2 separate regions of the Homo sapiens genome follow, and region 1 is linked to region 2. The links are contacts of gene promoters, found by promoter capture Hi-C in blood cells and fetal thymus (Javierre and others, 2016). All regions are on one chromosome and are shown on one strand. Each heading gives the region's core, a stretch centred on a gene start or on the middle of the fragment in contact. The rest is flanking DNA. Distances are from core to core; before and after follow the strand shown. Region 1 overlaps AFF2 (ALF transcription elongation factor 2). Region 2 holds the start of AFF2 (ALF transcription elongation factor 2).

Region 1 (4,922 bases), core at 1,851-4,350, 300 kb before region 2:
AACATGGACACTTCTGTACACTTCTTCCATTGTAACAGGAGGGAAGGCAGAGTGCCTAGGTACATAAGCAGCTGGGTTGGAGAAATTAAAGATGAGAAGATGACATGGTACTTGTCTGATTGTATCTTATTTTTCTCTATGAAGTATGCGGCAAGATCATCAGCTGAGAGTGGGGTGTGGTTACTGGAAATTGGAAGAGAAAAGAAAGGTTGGAATAGTTGTCTTCGAAAACAGAAACATGGATCATAGACTTGCTAGGGAAGTATAATAGAAGGGATAAGGAGGCGGGGAGAAAGAAGGGAGTTGGAGGCCAAGTAGCTCTGATGATTTGGAAGAAGGTGACACTGCTCCTCACTGTTAGCTTCTGCTTTTTCCAACACTGATTAATTAACCATAGTTCACAGTTCTCCAAATGCTCTAATCTAGAAGAGGCTTCATTCTGACTGCAATAAGCAGAAAGCGCAGGAGTAGGACTAATGACCAGGACTCCACCGTAGTGACTCCTGTAATATTATCCAGAAGGCCAGATGAAATTAAGCCCAGGGCCAAATTTAAGCCCCAAGGCTTGAGGATCTCCCCTGGGCCTAACTGAATGCTACTCTGTCTCTTTGGGAGCACAGAGAACTCGATTAACTCATATCCTCCTGAGAGAAATCATTCCTTTAGAACATTAGACGGAGTTTCTGAATTGTTTAAAGAAGAGCTATTTTTAATCATTGAAATATTTTGTATTCAAGCAAGCATTTTACACATTTAATATGTGATTGCTATCATGTAGTATTTTAAAATACGATTATCTTTTATGTGTCTTGGACTGACAAGTTCTTCAAATCATTTACAGTGTCTAAGATACAAGGACTTCCTCATGGGAAAAAAAAAGTGGGAGTTCAGTTTTTTCTGGTAATTTCTGAAGGCATTGCCACAGGTATATTATGGGGTCTTAAATTAAGTTCCATAACCCCGTTTAAAAAAGAAGCTTTTAAATATGTACCTTTGGCTCTTATTTTTTGAAAATCTTTTAGAAAAAAAAGGACTTACCTTGACATTCACAATCCCTCGCCCTAAAGAAACTACAATGGTCTTCTTACAAATAAATAACTAATGATTTAAACGTCTTTTTGAAAACCAAAAACTCAGATATCAGTTTTTCCTTTAACTAAATTCCTCTTAAAGCAATGTAAATGGAATAGACTTTATAAATCGTACCCACAGATGCCCTCAATAAAACAGTGACAACAGAATACACTTGATAGAAAGTGGCTCTACTTTTGTACTAACCTCTAACGAACTTGGCGCCTTATTGACTCTCTATACTCCGCACTTAGGATTGTCTTAATTGCCAGTGGATGACACTGAAATTCCACAGAAACAGAGTTACAATTGCTCTTCTTTGACAGTGATGATCCTAAAGAACAAGCCATGTGCATGGGAACTGAATCCTCGCCAGCTCCCCTATTATTTATGACTCTAATTAAAACACTTTTATCTATTAATGCCAAGTGACACAGCTAAATATATTCAGGGAAGTTCACATTTTTTCTGTACTTCTGAAATCTCTTAGATCTGCGCCCACTTACATGTGGTTTAACTGCTCACTAAAATGAAACGATAGCTAAGAATAACTCACTTTCATTAGATTTATAAATCTCATTAATTAAATCTACATCTCCAATGGTGTAGAGACCAAACTCAAATGCAAGATCTAATTAAAGAGAAGTAAAAAAAAAATGTTAAGAAACAACACTGAGATTGAAACACAGAAGTAACTGTTTAGCCTCAAATTAATGAGGCGCTATGCTAAGCAAGCATGTCCATTAATCCCTAATGAGGATTTTAAACACATTAAAACTTTCTAATACAAAATGTTTGCCTTCCTTTTATCCAATAACAAATAAGCCAATAATTTTCTGGCTCTAAATGACACTATTAACTGTCATGGCATGTTTTATTTGACAAACCCTCCATTCAAATACTGTAAAACCAATTAATTTGCCTGCTGTGAAATGTGTTTCTTGATAGCTTTTATGTGATTTTCTTTTCTTCTCAAAGAAATGTAAATAGGAGGTCAATGTAGGTGCCTGATTTTGCTTTAAAAATATGCCACAGTAGGTATAGGTTGTCCACTCGGTTTGCATTTCAAATGAATTGAAAGACAACCTCCATTTTCAGGTCATCAATCTCAGATTGTTCTCCTGATAAGTAAACTGTGTCAGAGTAATAGTTTGATTACCATGATGATGGTCTTATATTTGAGAAGGGAGTGTTGGCAAAATTACCATTTTGTTTGATTATAAATAATGATTTGCAACCGTGGCCCTTATCTTTCCTGCTTTGTTAAGTGACCTGGCTTTGTTACCTGTGTCTGACTATATCCAGCCTCTTCCAAAATGCACCTGCATGTGTGTCCAGGAAATCACTCAATAAAATTGGAGCTTATTCCTGATGCTTTTTATTTGGAAACATCACAATTTGTTACACTTCTTGTTGGCAAGAAAATCAATAGAACAAACACAAGAAGTTTGTTTCTTAAACTTCCCCTGGGCCTTACTTAGTATCTTCTGTTAGCTGGAGAGATGGCCCCAAGGTCCTGTCTGTCCACCATTTATGAGACACTGAAATTCTTGGCTCATGGAAGGGCATGGCACTTTTCCAGAAAATCACTCTGCAAAAACTGACCCCTGAAATAGACATAGTGTGTGTCATAAAGGGTCTGTGACATTAAATGTGGGCCAGCTCTGTGGAGCATCTCAAGCCCATTGAATTTTATGCTGAAGATCAAAGAAGGAGTGATACATGGTGTACCATGGTTTATGAAGCCTAACGGTCTATGCCAATTAACGTGGACAGCATATACCCAGCATCAGTGATCCTAACTTTTCTCGCATCCACAAGAAAACAAGGTATTGATTATTTCTGAGTTGTGGAAGTATGTAGGATAAACAGATACCTGGCAGGCATTTATAATTTCAGGTACAAGCACAACACATTACTGATAAAATAAACTCTTAATGAACTAACCAGACCTACTCTTGACCAGAATTAATGTGTTGCAGTACTTCTAAATTTGGCGTTTGGAAAATCTGTTCATGTAAAGGAAATAATCCCAAATGACAAATATGCATTGCACCCTCAGTATGCACAGTGCACTAAGCTAAGCATTAGGTAAAATGCAGTACATGATAAACAATGGCTGTCCACAGGGAGTGCTATGGCTTGAATGTTTGTCCTTTCAAAACGTCATGTTGAAATTTAATTGCCACTGTAACAGTATTCAGAGGTGGGGCCCTTAGGGTTGATTAGGCTATGGGGGCTCTGCCCTCATGAATAAATTAATGTCATTATCATGGGAGTGGGTTCCTGATAAAATGACAAGTTTGGCACTCTTTTGTTTCTGCTTCTCTCTCTGTCTCTCTCACTCTCTCTCTCTCTCTCCCCAACCTCCAACTTCTTCCATGTGATGCCTTCTACCATGTTATAATGCAGAAAGAAGGCCTGTGCCAGATGCTGACATCTTGATATTGGACTTCTCAATTTCTAAAACTGTGAGCCAATAAATTTCTGTTCATTATAAATTACCCAGTCTCAGGTATTCTGTTATAGAAGCACAAGACAGACTAAGACAGGGAGGGTATACTATAGACGAGTAGACAAGACCTGCATATCTAAAGTGAGGAATTACAGTGCATGTTAGCAGATATCTTTTTTTGATCCCTAAATGAGGCACATTGGCAGAAAAAAAATTTTCTTTCAGTGGGTACCAAAGTCAGCTTGCATGACGTGATTTACATGGCCAAATATGGGAATTTCTAGAATACCAATTTATGGGGAGAATGAATTGAAATCAGGGCTATCCTGGAAATCCAGTTTATGTGGTGATCATATTTTAAAAAGCCAGATTCATGGCTCTGACAATAACTTTAATAGAAAGTCACGAAAGGAAAAACTGTCCATGGATCTGGTGGTCAAGCAAGGAAGTAAGACAGGACCTTAACTTTGAATAAGAGAAAAAATTCAGATAGAGAGTGACTTTGGCATTTGGAAAAGACAGAAAGTAGTTTCCTGAAAGTACTTTATTTTTGGCATAGTGAAATGTAATTGGCTAAGAACAGAAAATGTGGTAGATTAATCTGAACAGAGTTCCTCTGAGTATGGTGGACATCTATATGTAACACTTTGTCCCTGCCCTCAGGATTCCTTTAGCACTTCATGAGATACTGTTTAATATACTTGAACTGACTGTCTTGAAGAAACTCTATTGGTTCAGTGACAAACTGTATGACTTTGGGCAAGTCACAGTTTTCCCAGATGTAAAACAAGCGGGTTGGCTTAGAATCCAGTCTTTAAGGTGACTCGTGTCTGTTAAGTCTGTCAATCTGTGGCCCAAAAGCAGATTAATTTGAAAGATTCAACTTGTGTTAATCTCTAGCTAGTAGAAGTCTCTAATCTAAAATTAAAAGCTACACATTTCACAGGTACAGAGCCTGCATGATCTACAGAAGTAAAAATGTTAAGCCATTCCTGCAAGTATTTTCATAACGAAAACAGACGACAGGCAACGTGCTTTAGAGCTAAAGTGGAAGCATTAAAATGTAGATAGTTCAATTTTTAATACCAAACATACTACAATGACAATTAGATGTCATTTTCAAAAATAACCTGTTGCCCCAAGGCCAAAGTATCTCAACTATGTGAGAGCTTCATGTTAAGTATGAGGTTATTGCTAAATGGTAGTGAAAATATAATCGATACTTTGCTAAGTCAATAAATTTCAAGCCAAAACATGTAGAAATGGCTCTGTTTGAAAAGATTATTTTGAAAGAAAAAAACATAATTGTTCCTAAGTCTTCCATTTTAATCAAGATTTGGCAATACACTGAGACCATCAGACATCAAGCGTTCTTGCGACCTTTTCAACTGTCAGG
Region 2 (4,954 bases), core at 456-2,955:
CTTGTAAAAATACACAGCATTCATAACCAACGGCCGCTAGTAGTTTAACATTGCAAAAGATTTCGCACTATTGGTAGGTACTACAGATCATTCTAAATACATTTTAAAAGGCAATAACCAAGAATGCAATTTTAAGCGGTTACCACTGCGCCCCCTCCCCATCTAATTCCTTAGACTGCGGGGGGAATCTGATACGTTTAAGTATTATGACAAATAAACTGTGATAATGTTTGTAGTAGGTGAAGTTTTTGAAAAGTTAATAGATATGTATATCAGTATTTATGCACACGCGCACGCACATCTCTAAGAGAGTTAACAACTTTCCAGGTCCCCAGTCACCTTTCTACCATCTTTCAAAATGTCTCAGCGACAAGTTTAGGGTATTTTGTGAAGAGCTGACTCAACCTTTGAATCTGAGCTGGAGGTCCCTTACAAAAAACTACGGCTGCCTCCCAGTGGGAGGCCGAAGGGGGTCCATCCGGTAATTAAATGTGCATTGACATCAGAGCTGCGGATTTGGGGGGCCAACTCCGAAAACCCTCAGTCTTGAAAGCCAAGCGCCGAAGTCGGCCTCGAACCAAGGTCCCCTGAGTGGTGGCCCCCAAAGCCGCTGCTCCACCCGGGAGTGCAGGGAACTTGGGCTGAGTCGGCAGAAGGAAAGGTGTGCGCGCCGCGCAGCGCAGGGATGGAGGTGGCGGCAGCGGGGGCGGTGGCCACCAAGGAAGCAGAGGGCTGCTGGCCGCACCTGGCCGTTGCCTTTCCCCCATGGCCCGCCGCGGGCGTTGGGCACCTGGAAAGTTGAGACATTTCGGGCGGGCGGCATCCGGGGCTCAAGGAGGCCAGACCGGCAAGCCGCTCCGAGAGAAAAGCTCCTGGGAGGTCGTGCGGTTCAGCCCTCGGGCGGCACCGAATTCGATGTGAGCCAAATGCAACTCTTTAGACTTGGAGCGCAAAGCGACGCTTTCGGGTCCGCATCCCTCCCTCTTCCCGCACCTCCCCCCACCCCGGCATCCGACCTAGGAGTCAGCGCGGCCGGGGCCAGAGGTGGCTGAGAGCAAGTGGGAGGGAGTCCGGGGCGCCCCCCACGACAGCTTCAGCTCCTCTTAACAAAGGCGAAAACCTCAGACTTCGCCAGGAGACTCGCTCATCAAAGGAGAAGGCAAAAATCAACACCTACCACTGCTGCTCCAAGTCCCAGTCTCTGAAAAAGTCGAATAGATCCATAGCGGCCAGGCGGCGGCGGCGGGCGGGCGCCTGTCCCTGATCGCAGCGGGTCGGCGCGGCTCTCGGCACAGCTCGCTGGCGGTTCTCGGCGGCCCCCGGCTCTCCAGCCCTCCCGCCCAGCTAAAAGTGTCCGGGCCGCATCGGCAGCAGCAGCGGGCGCTGGAGGTGTCTGGTCCTGTGCTCCGGCGAGGAAGCGGCGGCAGTGGCACTGGGCGGGCAAGCGCCTGGTCGCCCACTCGGGTCCGCTCGGTCCGCGGTAGCCCGCGCACCCAGCGACCCGACGCTGCGGCGGCAGCCGCTGCGGGCTCAGGCGGGCTGGGCCGCCCGCCTGGCTGGCTGCGGGCCGGCGGCGGCAGCGGCGGCGGGGGCGGCCGGGGCAGAGGCAGCGGCGCGGCGCGGCAGCCGGGGCGGCAGCGGCGGCGGCGGCGGCGGCGGCGGCGGCGGCGGCGGCGGCGGCGGCAGCGGCTGCACAGGCGGCGGCGGCGGCCGCGGCAGCATCACACACTTACACACTCACAGGGGGCGGAGCCTGGACAGCTAGAAGCCGCGACATGGAGCAGGCACGTTATCATCCCCGGATCTGGCAGGGGCTCGCCGCGCCCGCCCCTGCCTTTCGGGAACCCTCTCCCACCCCCCACTGTCAAAATCAGCTAGTGGGAGCGGCCACAGAGCTGAGGACCCGGACCCGGACCCGGGACGCAGGGGCCGTGGCAGGGATACAGGAGGTGGGCTGGCGGGACCAGGACGCGGGCTTCGGGAATGGGACCCCTCTCTGAAGCCCAGCCCACCCCCACCACTGGGAATTAGTTTTGAACTAGAAAAGACAGCACAAACAGCCGTGGGGTTGAAGGTCGCCCCCTGCCACCTCAAGCACAGCTCCTTGAGCCCCCGAGTAGTGGAGCAAACTTTGCGGGCCTGAGCATCCCTCAGGTCTGTAGTGCGTAGCACGCGGGTCCAGGAAGGAGAAGGCGGTCACCTTCACCAGCCCCGTGGCTCCACGTGCCCGCACCCAGGCCCTCCAGGCATGCCTTTAGGCGCGCACCTAGTAGGTCAGCGAGCTATAGGCCCTGGATTCAGTGGGCAGCAAGGATAGGAACAAATGACTGCCCTTGCGTGGTCCTTGAGTTCGGGGTTAGGATACTGTTAAACTGGGTTCCACTGTCACTTTCCTCGCACGGTCACCAGGTGCCTTGAGCAAAAGACTTCTGCTAGCTCCTCCTCTGAGAAATGGGAAAACCACTGGGTGTGTGCCCAGTATCCCACGCACCGGCTGCCCGTCTCCCTTCTGGCCTGAAATTCTCTTTCTGCACGTGGAGGGTTTAACCGAGCCTCCTACTCCCTTCAACCTCCACCTCTGATCCAGGAAGGAGTGGATCCCTTTAGCCAATTCCCTGGAGGGAAAGGTTCCCTGGCCTCCGTGCAGAGAAAGGTCTGTGGGAAGGGGCGGGACCGCTTTCTGGCATTTCAGGACATGAGCATTCTGGAGTCCTAGGCATGTAATTTGCCTTCTTCGTGTCGTTATACAGAGGGAATAGTATTGGCACATTTTTCAAATCCTAAGGCTAGAACTCTCTTGGGAAGGACAGCAGACTGAGCCCTGACAGAGCAGGGTGCCGGTAGCTCTGTGTGTGACTCCAAGCAAGTCACTTATCTGGGCCTCAGTTTCTCCATAAAACACCCAGCAGCCCTCTGGCTCATACTTCTCTGACATTCTCCCTTCTATTTGAATATGCTTCTACAGTATTATCTCATATTACCAAAATCATCCAAATACCTTTTAACTTCATTTTTTTCCTGAAGAAACAGAGACCCTAAGACATTAAAATGCTCAAGATCTGATATTTCCCCTAGAGGGGGATCCCAGATTAGAACCTAGAACCTGGGAAGCTCTTCCAGGGCTGGAGCCAGTAGAAGGTGCCTCAGCTCCAAGCATGAATGACTTCAGCATTTGAGCTACAAGGGGCCCAGGGTCTGGTCTCTTTCACATTGTTTTACGGGGGGAAAGAAAGCACATCATTAACATAGAGAAACAAGGCTCTAAGATTCTGCAACTCAAGCATCCACTGGGACTTTGCTTAGATGTCTATTTACTTTGCATGGGACCAAGTCCTCAACAGATGCTGGTTGACTGATGGAAAATCAACCAGTGGGCAGCCAAGGGGAGACGACATCTCAAAGTGGCTTGTAGATTTGGCTACCTGTAAACTCCTCTGGTCAAAAAGACTCTATGGAGAAACAGTTATTGGCAAAAATGGTGCTGGGGATTTTCAAATTATCTCTGTGACTTATTTATTCATGGAATTCTAGTATTCAGCCCTGGACTGAGAGCCCTTAAAGCAACAAGGACGGCCTCGCTCAGATCTGTGGCCCCCGACCTTTATGCCTTCAGTAAAAAATCCTCAAATTGGATTTGATTGCTGATGATGGTTGCCAGCATTAGTACTTGATCTGCTTGAAAATCCTTAGAGGAAAGCCAGAACACCTACAATTAACATTTAAATGGTGATTATGGTCACTTTATTTCTGGTTTACTTTTCTCACAAAATTGTATTTAATGGGGAAAGATAGAAAAAAAAATAACATGCTAGGCAAACAAATTTTCAACAGAAATAAAGCTGCCCCTTTAAGAGTTCCAGCCCCCCATCACCTCACTGGTGCACTTTCTTCCCAATCAGCAGGAGGACCAAGCAGAAGCAGAAGGAGCCAGCAAGAGGCAGCACTATGAACAGAAGTGCCTGCGGGAAGGAGAGAAGAGACAAGTGGTGCCGGCTGCTGCTTCAAAAGAGGGGCAGGGGCTTTCCCTTCCTGAGATCAAAACCAAGCAGGAAGGTTGGGTTGGGTGGAAGGAGCCCCCACTTCCTAGCCACTCTCCTCAAACAGAGATGAGGTTAAGACAGGCAACACTGAAGGGGCCAGGCTGTCCCTGAGGCCTCTTTGGCCGGGCCTGGCACCTGCTCACTGAGCATCAGCTACTGAGCAAGATAGAAGCTTTGTCTTCTCTGATCCAAGGTGTGCTTTCTCCCTTCCTCCTCACTCTGTGCATCCGTGGCTCTGATGGGGCCAGGGGCCCTAGAACTCAGCTCTTCAATGAATCCTCAAACATGTGGGCAGGATGCTGGATCCAAGCCATGCTTCCTCCACCAAAAAGCTAGCAGGAGGGTGGAGAAAGCACTTTGCATGGAGGGCAGTAGCAAGAGGAAATAAAAAGGCTATCTGGAGGGAGGGCCCACTGCTGCTGTCATACTGGGGTCATCTAGCTGTCATCTAGCCTGTGGTGGGGATCCAGTTGCTTCCCTCTCATTCCACTCACTATGGCATCTTAGCTATGGTGGAATACTCCCCCTCACCAGCCTAATGCCTTTGTTTTGGCTGGAAAAGCTCCTTTCTTACCTAGCAAAACCCACCTCAGGCCCCAGTTTCAGAACTCTCAGTTCAACCGAATATTTTAGAAACTGCAGGCACAACCTTCTCTCCCTCTGACCCTTCTCCCTCTGTTGGCTTCTCCCATTCTGACTGTCTCCCCCACCCCTGCCAGTGCCTCACCAATTTCCCCTAGTCACAAAACCCCAACCAAAAGGAACCTACTGGGAGAACCCGTAGGCCAACAGAAAGCCATCTTTTCTGACAGGAAAGGATCAAAACTGAGACTCCATGCCCCAATCCACTGAGATAAAACCAGAAATTGTTTTTAAGAGGGATTGGTTTTATAGAAATGCTGATTTTCAGATTT

Evidence for each region. The method cuts DNA at HindIII sites, captures the fragments that hold promoters and counts their contacts. A CHiCAGO score of 5 or more calls a contact.
Region 1: a fragment that was not itself captured here is called in contact with the fragment with the promoter of AFF2 in region 2 in 1 of 17 cell types (neutrophils); the score reaches 5.2 in neutrophils.

The regions. Positions count from the first base shown.
Region 1 is chrX:148,796,668-148,801,589 of GRCh38, reverse strand. All of the region lies in intron 3 of AFF2 (ALF transcription elongation factor 2), which reads right to left. Among named protein-coding and RNA genes, the nearest start is that of AFF2, 300 kb to the right of the region's middle. The HindIII fragment of the contact is 4,244 bases long and covers 979-4,922 here.
Region 2 is chrX:148,497,368-148,502,321 of GRCh38, reverse strand. AFF2 (ALF transcription elongation factor 2) reads right to left here and starts at 1,705. Exons shown (of 21, transcript NM_002025.4): 1 at 1,178-1,705. The coding sequence starts at 1,224. RefSeq lists an enhancer at 168-1,045. The HindIII fragment of the contact is 5,176 bases long and covers 1-4,214 here.